Linked DNA regions of Homo sapiens: region 1 is linked to region 2. Evidence: promoter capture Hi-C in 16 types of primary human blood cells and fetal thymus (Javierre and others, 2016). All regions are on one chromosome and are shown on one strand. The core of a region is centred on a gene start or on the middle of the fragment in contact, and the rest is flanking DNA. Distances in the headings are between cores, read along the strand shown. Region 1 overlaps HOOK2 (hook microtubule tethering protein 2). Region 2 holds the start of PRDX2 (peroxiredoxin 2).

What was found. Contacts are between HindIII fragments. The CHiCAGO score rates a contact against its expected background, and 5 or more counts as called.
Region 1: a contact is called between a fragment that was not itself captured here and the fragment with the promoter of PRDX2 in region 2, in 2 of 17 cell types (monocytes and neutrophils). The highest score is 6.1, in monocytes.

What each region holds. Positions count from the first base shown.
Region 1 is chr19:12,764,114-12,769,588 of GRCh38, forward strand. HOOK2 (hook microtubule tethering protein 2) reads right to left here. Exons shown (of 23, transcript NM_013312.3): 12 at 3,900-4,010; 13 at 3,703-3,790; 14 at 3,282-3,351; 15 at 1,990-2,127; 16 at 1,814-1,901; 17 at 1,716-1,721; 18 at 1,577-1,611; 19 at 886-968; 20 at 701-804. Among named protein-coding and RNA genes, the nearest start is that of HOOK2, 8.7 kb to the right of the region's middle. RefSeq lists an enhancer at 1,416-1,961. The HindIII fragment of the contact is 2,554 bases long and covers 960-3,513 here.
Region 2 is chr19:12,800,340-12,805,259 of GRCh38, forward strand. It overlaps PRDX2 (peroxiredoxin 2), which reads right to left and starts at 1,461. Exons shown (of 6, transcript NM_005809.6): 1 at 1,401-1,461; 2 at 820-931; 3 at 577-730. The coding sequence starts at 922. THSD8 (thrombospondin type 1 domain containing 8) reads left to right here and starts at 1,730. Exons shown (of 2, transcript NM_001386800.1): 1 at 1,730-1,880; 2 at 3,765-4,050. The coding sequence starts at 1,733. The coding sequence ends at 3,964. RefSeq lists enhancers at 539-738, 1,066-1,624, silencers at 1,224-1,409, 1,419-1,808 and a cis regulatory region at 1,272-1,821. The HindIII fragment of the contact is 3,955 bases long and covers 1-2,176 here.

The DNA.
Region 1 (5,475 bases), core at 987-3,486, 35 kb before region 2:
AAGTGATTCTCCTGCCTCAGCCTCCCGAGTAGCTGGGATTACAGGCGCATGTTACCAATCCCGCCTAATTTTTCTATTTTTCGTAGAGACGGGGTTTCGCCATGTTGGCCAGGCTGCTCTCGAACTCCTGACCTCAAGGGATCAGCTGCTTCAGCCTCCCAAAGTGCTGGGATTAGCGGCGTGAGCCACTGCGCCTGGCTGTGCGTAATTTTTTTTTTTTTTTTTTTTTTTTTTGAGATGGACTCTTGCCCTGTCGCCTAGGCTGGAGCGCAGTGGCACAATCTCAGCTAACTGCAACCTCCGCCTCCCGGGTTCAAATGATTTTCCTGCCTCAGCCTCCTGAGTAGCTGGGATTACAGGCACCCACCACCATGCCCAGCTAATTTTTGTATTTTTAGTAGAGATGGGGTTTCACCATGTTGGCCAGGCTGGTCTCAAACTCCTGACCTCATGTTCCGCCTGCCTTGACCTCCCAAAGTGCTGGGATTACAGCCATGAGCCACGGCACCCAGCCAGCTGTGCAGTATTTTAATGTGACAATCAGTAGCAGTGGGGAATCATGCAGAAGTCTGTCTTATGGTGGGGTATGACAGGTATGAGTTGGGGGCACAGATGTGCAAGCAGGAGGTTTGACTCAATAGGAGGCACAAAAAGTAAGAAGCCAGGGCAGGCAACTTGTGGGAACACCCAGCGTCCTCACCATGCGGGCCTTGTCCACGTAGCGGCGGTATCGCTCCTCCATGGCCCGCAAGTCCGCGTCCTTCTTCTGCAAGTTATGCTGCAGCTCCTCGATCCGCCGGGCTGCTGGCGGAAGAGGTGGCCCATCAGCTCCACGCTGCTGGGCTCTGGGATCTCCCCACCCTCTGGTCACTAGGTCCTACTTACTGCTGCTGTCAGTGGGTGGCTCCAGCTCCTCAATGTACTCCCGCTTCCTCTGCAACTCCAGATCTGCCTCATGAAGCTTCTGCCTGTGGGCCGGGGATGAGCAGCAGTGGGCTGACCTCCGGGCTGGCTTCTCTTTTGTCCCAGTGGTAGCCACAGACCTCCCCGCCAGCCAGAAATGCCCCTACATGGCCACAGAGCCCTCTCTGCCTGCCCCTCATGCCTGGGGCTGTGTGCCCTGGTCCCACCGGCTCCACAGCTGTCAGAGCCACAACCCTCCGCACCCTTAGCAGGTATGCCCCGGAACAGCCCCTGCTGTCCACTTCTTCCCATCCCACAGCTCCCAAGCTGGTTCAGCCACCATCTTCCCTTGCTAGCTTCTTCTACTCTCAAGCACTCCATCCAGCAGCCAGGGATCTTTCTAGAATACAAATCTCTTCAATAGCAGACAGGTAAAAGAAAAGAAAGCAGGCCAGGCGCGGTGGCTCATGCCTGTAATCCCAGCACTTTGGGAGGCCAAAGCGGGTGGATCATCTGGGGTCAGGAGTCCGAGACCAGCCTGGCCAACATAGTGAAACCCCGTCTCTACTAAAAATATAAAAAATCAGCCAGGCATGGTGGCACATGCCTAAGAAACTCCCCACTAATATCAAATCCATGCCCCCACGAGGAGTTCCCTCTTTCTGCGACTTACAAATGTTCCTCCAGCTTCCTTTTCAGCAAAATGGACTGGGAGAGAGAAGAGGCAAGGTGAGTGGGGGATCCAGAGAGGCCCTAATTCTTCCTTCCCAGGGTGAGGGTAGGGGGTGCCATCCTGGGCCCATGGTACTTACAATGGCCTGTATGGGGCATCGGGCAGCATGGGAGAGAGAGGAGGGTTACTTCGGGGCACAAGGGAGGGCCAGGCTGGGAGGTGGTGGGTGACACTCACATCTTCAGTCTTGCCCCCCTGCTCCTGCAGGGCTTTCTGCAGGTCCTCCACCTGGGCCCGCAGCTCGGATAGCTGCTGCTGGTTCAGCCTGCGAGGGTGGGGGGCCGCTTAGTGCCTGTGCCCACTTTTGGCCCCCTCTGTCCCTGCTCCGCGCAGGTAGGTCCCCAGGCGCTCACCGGTGCTGCGTCTCCAACCCGTGGCGCGCGCGGTTGGCATCCTCCAGGTGGCGCTGCAGCTCCTCCTGCCGCTCCCGGTCGGCCGCCTCCTGCCTGCACAGCCGCTTGTTCTCCAGCTGAAGCCGCAGGAGCGTCTCCCTGCAGACCCGGGAGGAGAGAGCAGGGCCAGGGTCGAGTCACCTCGCAGGCTCGCTGGGGCTCAGGGAGAGTGGAGCTAGGGGCGGGACAGAGCCCTGGGGAAGAGCCCAGCCAGACCATGGGGTTGGAGCACCGAGGACCTACTACGGGTTCAGGTTCCCGGCCCAGGGTTAAAGTGGACGGAGCTCTAAGCTGGGATAGTGGGTGGGGCTAGGCAGGGGCGGAGCTACAAGAGTGGATTCGAACAGCTGGGATGGGACTGCTGGAAAGCGGGAAGCAGAAATGGGAAGAACTAGGATGGGACAGTTTTTCGGGGTTTTTTTGTTTGTTTGTTTGGTTAGTTTTGGCTTTTTGTTTGTTTGAGATGGAGTCTCGCTCTGTCGCCCAGGCTGGAATACAGTGGCGCGATCTCGGCTCACTGCAACCTCTGCCTCCCAGGTTCAAGCGATTCTCCTGCCCCAACCTCCCGAGTAGCTGGGACTACAGGTGCGTGCCACCACACCCGGCTAATTTTTTGTATTTTTAGTAGAGACGGGGTTTCACCGTGTTAGCCAGGATGGTCTCGATCTCCTGACCTTGTGATCCGCTCGCCTTGGCCTCCCGAAGTGCTGGGATTACAGGCGTGAGCCACCGCGCCCGGTCGTTTTTCGGGTTTTTAAATCATTTTTATTTTGTAGAGAGGGCCACTATGTTGCCCAAGCTGCTCTCAAACTCCTGGGCTCAAGTGATCCTCCAGCTTCGGCCTTCCAAAGTGCTGGGACTTAGAGGCATGATCCACCGTGCCTGGCCCGGGGTGGGAGAGTTAATCCCGGCAGGGCACAGGGGACTGAAACTCACAGAGGTTACACTAACAGGGGTGGACGCTGGGGGAAAGGATCAAAGTCAGCGGGGCTAGGGCATAGGATTTTTGTGCAGGAACTGGAGCCAGGTGTTGGACATAATTTGTGTACTAAGGATAGACCCTTGAGAGGCAAAGTCATCTGGTAGGGCTGGACAGAGCCAAATCAGGAGTAAGTGGGCCTAGGAGCCCGGCTGGCACCTGGAGCTGAGACCAAGCAACCGGGGCTAGCAGAAGATGGGAGGGCGGGAGCGGGGCTGAGGGCGGGCCTTGGCAAGCCTGGGTGGGGCCAGAGTTTTGAGTGACCCCAGGATACCTGAGCTCCGCAGGCAGGATCTCTGCGGCTAAGTTATCCACGGGTGTGGAGGTGGGATCCAGTGAGGGATCTGAAGAATGCGAGAAAAGTCTTCAGGTCTCTTCGCATCCCCTGTCCCCGCCCCTAGGGTCTTCTTCCCAAGGATCATCTTTTGGGGCTTCAAGTTCAGCCAACAGTCTGGCTTGACACAAGCTCCATCCCCGGCTTGATAGAGAACCGGGAGGGTTGGCCAAGCTTTTTAGCCTTTGCTCCACCCTGAGACCCTGAGCCTCTCTCTTCAATTTGACCGTGTCACCTCTTTCTGGTCACCTCCAGCCTGGCCTAGCTCTGTCCCCAACCTAGACATGCACTGGGACACAACCTGTTCTACCCAAACAGTACACCAGGACAGGTAAGACCCCGGGATGGGGCTTCATCTCACCGGCCTGGGTCAACCCCCGCGGCTGCAGCTGGGCGCAGCGCAGCTCCTCATTGGCCTCCCGCAAGGAGTCCCGCTCCGCCAACAGCCGCTGCAGGGACAGGGTACAAGACACTCCACGGGTCAGGCTCGGCCTCCTGGGAAATGGGCTACCCCAGAATTGGCAGGGTGGGGCTTGGGCAGTGGAACCTCAGCCTCACCTCCTTCTCCTTTGTCACCGACTCATACTTTTCCTCCAGGTTGCGGCATTCAAATAGCCATTTCTCGGCCTTCATGGCCTCCTCCTGCCGCTGGCCCTGCAGTTCCTGCACCTGAACACAGAGAGGGGAGGAATAAGGACAGCAGGGCTGGGAGCAGGGGCAGGGGCTGAGTACAAATGGTCCCCGATCCAGGATGCTTTGACTTATTATTTTTTTGACTTTACTATGGTGCTTTCAGCTGTGTATGTTTTTGCTTGTTTTTTTTAGAGACAGGGTCTCCCTCTGTTGCCCTGGCTGATCTCAAACTCCTGGCCTCAAGCAGTCCTCCCACTTCAGCCTCCCAAAGCACTGGGATTACAGGTGTGAGCCGTTGCACCCAGCCGACTGTGAATGTTAATAGTAGGAACCCATACAACCATTCTGTTTTTCAATTGCAATGAATTAGTCTTCAATAAATTGCGTTATATAGTCAACGCTTTATTATAAAATAGGCTTTATGGTAGATGATTTTGCCAAACTAGGCTAAGGTAAGTTTTCTGAGCATGTTTAAGGTAGGCTAGGCTAGGCTGTGATGCTCAGTAGGTAAAGTATGTTCAATGGATTTTCTTTTTTAAAAAAAATTTAAAAATTTTTATTTTTTGAAAACAGATGGAATCTCGCTATCTTGACCAGGGTGTTCTCGAACTGCTGGCCTCAAGCGATCTCCCATCTCAACCTCTCAAAGTGCTGGGATTATAGGCATGAGTCACCACGCCCAGCTCTCTTTTTCTTTTTCTTTTTTTAATATCTTTTACTTTTTTCTTTTGAGACAGTCTCCCTCTCTCAACCAGGCTGGAGTGCAGTGATGCGATCTTGGCTTACTGCAACTTCCACCTCCCAGGTTCAAGCTATTCTCGTGCTTCAGCTTTCTGGGTAGCTGGGATTACAGGCGCGCGCCACCAGCCCGGCTAATTTTTTTTTTTTTTTTTTTCGAGACGGAGTCTTGCTCTGTCGCCCAGCCTGGAGTGCAGTAGCACGATCTCGGCTCACTGCAAGCTCCGCCTCCCGGGTTCACACCATTCTCCTGCCTCAGCCTCCCGAGTAGCTGGGACTACAGGCGCCCACCACCACGCCCGGCTAATTTTTTGTATTTTTAGTAGAGATGGGGTTTCACCGTGTTAGCCAGGATGGTCTCGATCTCCTGACCTCGGGATCCACCCGCCTCGGCCTCCCAAAGTGCTGGGATTACAGGAGTGAGCCACCACGCCCAGACTAATTTTTCTATTTTTAAGTAGAGACAGGGTTTTGCTATGTTGGCCAGGATGGTCTCAAACTCCTGGCCTCAAGTGATGTGGGGTTACAGAAGGAGTTATGGGGTGCCCGCCTTGGCCTCCCAAAGTGCTGGGATTACAGGCGCGAGCCACCGCACCCGGTCTTTTTCTTTTGTTTGAGTCAGGGTCTCACCCTGTCACCCAGGCTGGAATGCAGTGATGCAGCCACAGCTCACTACAACCTCGAAATCCTGGGCTCAAGTGATCCTCCCGGCTCAGCCTCCCAAAGCGCTGGGATACCAGGCCTGGCCTTTATGCATTTTAGG
Region 2 (4,920 bases), core at 211-2,710:
GGCACAGCAGGGTCCTCACCCTGTGGGCCCAATGTGATAAGCACTGGAGGCCGGAGATAAGGGGCTTTAGAGTAGGCCGCTGGGAGCCTCACCCACCCCACCCTGGGTTGGGTGCAAGGACTGTATCCCCATGGCTGGGAAGACTGAGTTTGAGAGGCACAGCTCCAGCTAAGTGGCTTCACATGTACTTGTAACTTGCAGCATCACCCAGCAGAGAGCCTGTGTTAAGAGTCCCCATCCTCCTCTAGCTGTGTCATGGGGTACAGCCCTTCACTTCGGTGAACTGGAGTTTCCATCTTCATGAAATAGGGCAGCACAGCCTCCCTCCTGGGAACTAAGTACATAGAGTAGATAGAGTTGCATCTGAGTTGCATCTGCAACTCTATATACCAGGCAACTAGTTGTCAAATGCTAATTACTGTCATCATCCTTAAAGACTTGGGCGGCAATGTTTCCATTATTTTCACGATGGGGAAACGCAGGTTCCAGAGGTTGAGCAATGGCCACGAAGCCACACTGCTAGGACCTGAGGGTGTGAGCTTAGCTGCAACCTCCCTCTTTGGCCCCTGCTCATACCAAGCCAGGTGGGTGAACTGAGAGTCCACCGAGACGCCCAGCACTTCACAGCCCAGCTTGCGGAAGTCCTCTGCACGGTTGCTGAACGCGATGATCTCGGTGGGGCACACAAAAGTGAAGTCCAGAGGGTAGAAAAAGAGGACCACGTACTTCCCTGGGGAGGAGGGACACAGAGGAGTTAGGGCCCAGCTTCTCTCATGCACGGCCCCGCTTCTACCTGGGCCCCCTCCGGGCGGCGCTCACCTTTGTAGTCCGACAGCTTCACCTCTTTGAAGGCGCCATCAACCACCGCTGTGGCCTTGAAGTCAGGGGCTGGCTTTCCGATGCGCGCGTTACCGGAGGCCATGACTGAAAGCTGAGACCCCCGCCCGGTCAGTGCGCCCGGGAAGACACTTTGTCCTCCCAACCCAAGGTCGCGCTGCGTGCTGGGCCCTATGACTGAGTCAGCACGGCGGAGGCGACAGCACTAACCCTCACCCTCCCGGGTACCCGGTCTACGAGGCCCGGAGGCTGCCGGAGACCCGCTCTCCTGACCAGAGCACGAGTGACCCAGCCACTGCCACCAGCACCCCACGAGCGAGTCGGCCGGAGGGCGGTGTCGCAAGCCCCCAGCCCAGAAGGAGACAGTGAGGCCCGCACGAGCAGGGGGCGGGAAGTCGGGCGATCAGGCCTGCGCTGCAAGGCTGTGGCCTCGGTTTCCCCCGCAAGGACAAAGGAGGCCACTATAGCGGATGGAAAGCAAAGGCGGCCAGCACTAAAGTCAGGATCGGGCCAAAGCAGCCTGAAGGGGGTCCTCCCGCCAGGTGCACTCCGGGTGTTCATACCTGCGTGGGCAAAGGCTAGACGCACGGACGATCACACGCGTGGACCCGCGTTCTCAGCGCCAAGTGAGCCCTGGGCCGCGAAGCCTTTTATGCCCGGCCCGAACCAAGACGTGCACGGCGCGGGGGAGGGAGCGGACGAGCGGAGCGGTCGGGTCCACTGCGCCCGCAGGTGCGGGGGAGCGTGCGGCCGGGTCCATGCGCCTGCGGGCGGCGGGGGGAGACGCGTTGCCTTCGGCCGGGACCACTGCACCTGCCCGCGTGGGTAATGCGCCCGCCGCAGACTCCGCGCACGACTCCGCCTGGGAGCGCGTTGGGGGCCGTTGGAGTCCAGCATGGCGCGGACCCCGGGGGCGCTGCTGCTGGCGCCTCTGCTACTCCTGCAGCTGGCGACCCCTGCCCTGGTCTACCAGGACTATCAGTACTTAGGGCAGCAGGGCGAAGGTGACAGCTGGGAGCAGCTGAGGCTGCAGCATCTAAAGGGTAACCTCAGGCGGCGGGGATGACGATGCCCAAAGGCTCCCCGTTGCCCTACTTCTCCTGCTGGCTGCAAAGGGACCTTCCTCGGCGGGCTGCAAATCTCCACCCAGCTCCGCACTGGAGGCGTCCCCTTGGGCTGGTTACTTTTCTCTAAGGCTCGGTTTACTCTTGGATATATTGAAATAGATACTGCTTTAAAGCAGCTCCCAGGGGAAGAGAGGGTGTGGGCAGGACACTGAAGCTGTCACTCGGGGATAGGTGCCAGGAAGGGCAGAGACAGAGAAAGAAGGGGGCGGGCAAGCTTGGGAAATCAGAGAGGGTCCGATTGCAGAAGACCCGTGACCAGTGCAGCGAGAACGACAAGCGAAAGTCCCATATGGAAAGATTTGGGGAAAGAATGTCCAAGGAAGAGGGAATAGCAAATGCCAAGGTGAAAAGTCCTGAAGGAGAAATGGAAAGAGGTCGGTGAGGTGTGGCAGAGACATGGGTGTGGGAGGGTAGGAGGTGTCAGACCTTGGTGAGCGGTGAGTTGGGATAAGATCGGAGTTGGGATAAGATCTGTCTCATAGGGGAAAGGGGCAGATTCAGTAAAGAGCCCTTTAAAGTGATCACAGTGGCCGGCGCGGTAGCTCACGCCTATAATCCTAGCACTTTGGGAGGCTGAGGTGGGAGGATCCCTTGGTCTCGGAGACCAGACCAGCCTGGCCCACACAGCAAGACTCCATCTCTACAAAAAATATTTTAAAATTAGCCTGACTTGATGGCCCAGCACTTTGGGAGGCCGAGGCGGGAGGACTGCTTGAGCCCAGGAATTCAAGACCAGCCTGGGCAACATGGAGAGACCCCCTACTCTACAAAAATAAATAAATAAATAAAAATAAAAAATAAATTAGCCTGCCATGGTGGCATGCGCCTGTAGTCCCAGCTACTCAAGAGGCTGATACAGGAGGACCATTTGTGCCAAGGAGTTTGAAGCTGCAGTGAGCCATGATTATGCCCTTGCATTCCAACCTGGGTAACAGAGCAAGATCTTGTCTCAAAATAAATAAATTAAATAAATAAACAAACTGATCATAATAAATTGGTTTGTATATGCTAGCACAGCACCGGGAGATTTACTTACCTTCATTATGTCAATTATGCCATTTATCACTTGACAACCCTGCTGTCAGGTGGCATTGTGCCTTCTAGGTAGGGCCATGGTCACACCCCTGAAGACAGAAGTCAGCTTCAAATGGCGGGCACCAAGGATGTTGTAGGACACTCACAACTGGGCAGGCTGGCACAGCCTGGAAGTGTCAGGTTGTAGTTCCTCTGGCCCACTTACCCCGTATATGAGCTTGGAAGGTTGGCTTGCTGTCTCTGGGTCTTGGTTTCCCCACCTGAGACTCGTGGAAATATTAAATGAGGCCAGGCATGGTGGCTGGCTCACACCTGTAATCCCAGCACTTTGGGAGGCTGAGATGGGAGTATCACTTGAGCCCAGGAGTTCCAGACCAGCCTGGGCAACATGGTGAAACACCGTCTCTGCAAAAAATACAAAAAATTAGCCAGGCACAGTGGCATGTGCCTGTAGTCCCAGCTACTTGGTAGGCCGAGGTAGGAGGATTGCTTGAGCCCAGGAGGTTGAGGCTGCAGTGAGCTGTGACTGCGCCACTGCACTCCAGCCTGGGCGACAGAGCGAGACCCTGTCTCAAAAAAAAAAAAAAAAAAAAAAAAAAAGCTTAAATGAGATAATCTGTGGCAGGGTGTCTGGCATAGAAGCAGAGTCTAGCGAATATGTGCTTCTCTTATTCGTTAGTATCTTTATCTTTCTCCCTCTCTGGGGGAGGGGATTGGGAGTAGGCCCCCTCCACGTAGGTCTTCACCTCTGCCCTCCTTCTCTAGAAGTCGAGGACTCAATCCTTGGCCCGTGGGGAAAGTGGCGGTGTCTCTGCGACCTGGGCAAGCAGGAGCGCAGCCGCGAGGTAGTGGGCACAGCGCCGGGCCCGGTTTTCATGGACCCGGAGAAGCTGATCCAGTTACGGCCCTGCCGGCAACGGGATTGTCCATCCTGCAAGCCCTTCGACTGCGACTGGAGGCTCTGAGCCCGGGTGAGAGAGCAGGGCCGGGGCAAGTTGCGGGGCCCAGGGTGGGCGCGGAGGGAGGATGTGCGGTGCGGGGCGGGTATGAAGCGAGTTTGAGGAAGGGAGAACTGGGGCTCCAAGTCTTGAGTGACTTGAGGCTGATTTGGTTAGGGGGAAGCTGAGTCAGGAGCCGTGAGCCCCGCTGATATCTAGGGAGAAAAGGAGAAAAGTGGAGGGGGCGCCGGGCGCCGGGGCTCACGCCTGTAATTCCAGCATTTTGGGAGGCCGAGGCAGGCGGATCTCTTGAGTCCTGGAGTTCAAGATTAGTCTGGGCAATATCGTTGAGATCACCTCTCCATAAAAATTTTTAAAATTAGGCCGGGCGCGGTGGCTCACGCCCGCAATCCCAGCACTTTGGGAGGCCAAGGCAGGCGGATCACAAGGTCAGGAGATCGAGACCATCCTGGCTAAAACGGTGAAACCCCGTCTCTACTAAAAATATAAAAAATTAGCTGGGCGCGGTGGCGGGCGCCTGTAGTCCCAGCTACTCGGGAGGCTGAGGCAGGAGAATGGCATGAACCCGGGAGGCGGAGCCTGCAGTGAGCCGAGATCGCGCCACTGCACTCCAGCCTGGGCGACAGAGCGAGACTCTGTCTCAAAAAAAACCAACCAAACAAACAAACAAACAAAAACATTTAAGTTAGATGAGCGTGGCGGCACATGCCTGTGGTCCCAGCTACTCGGTACGATGGGGAGGAAGGATCGCTTGAGCCTGGGAGGCAAAGGTTACAATAAGCCGAGATCGCTACACTGCTATCCAGCCTGGGCAACAGAGTAACATCCTGTCTCAAAAAAAAAAAAAAAAAAAAAAAAAAAAAAAAAGTGGAGGGGGAGGCGAAGAGGAGTAAAAGGAGATAAAGAGACAATGAACTAGGACCCTGAGGAAGGGGCATGAGCCTGGTAAGGGGCGGGAACCC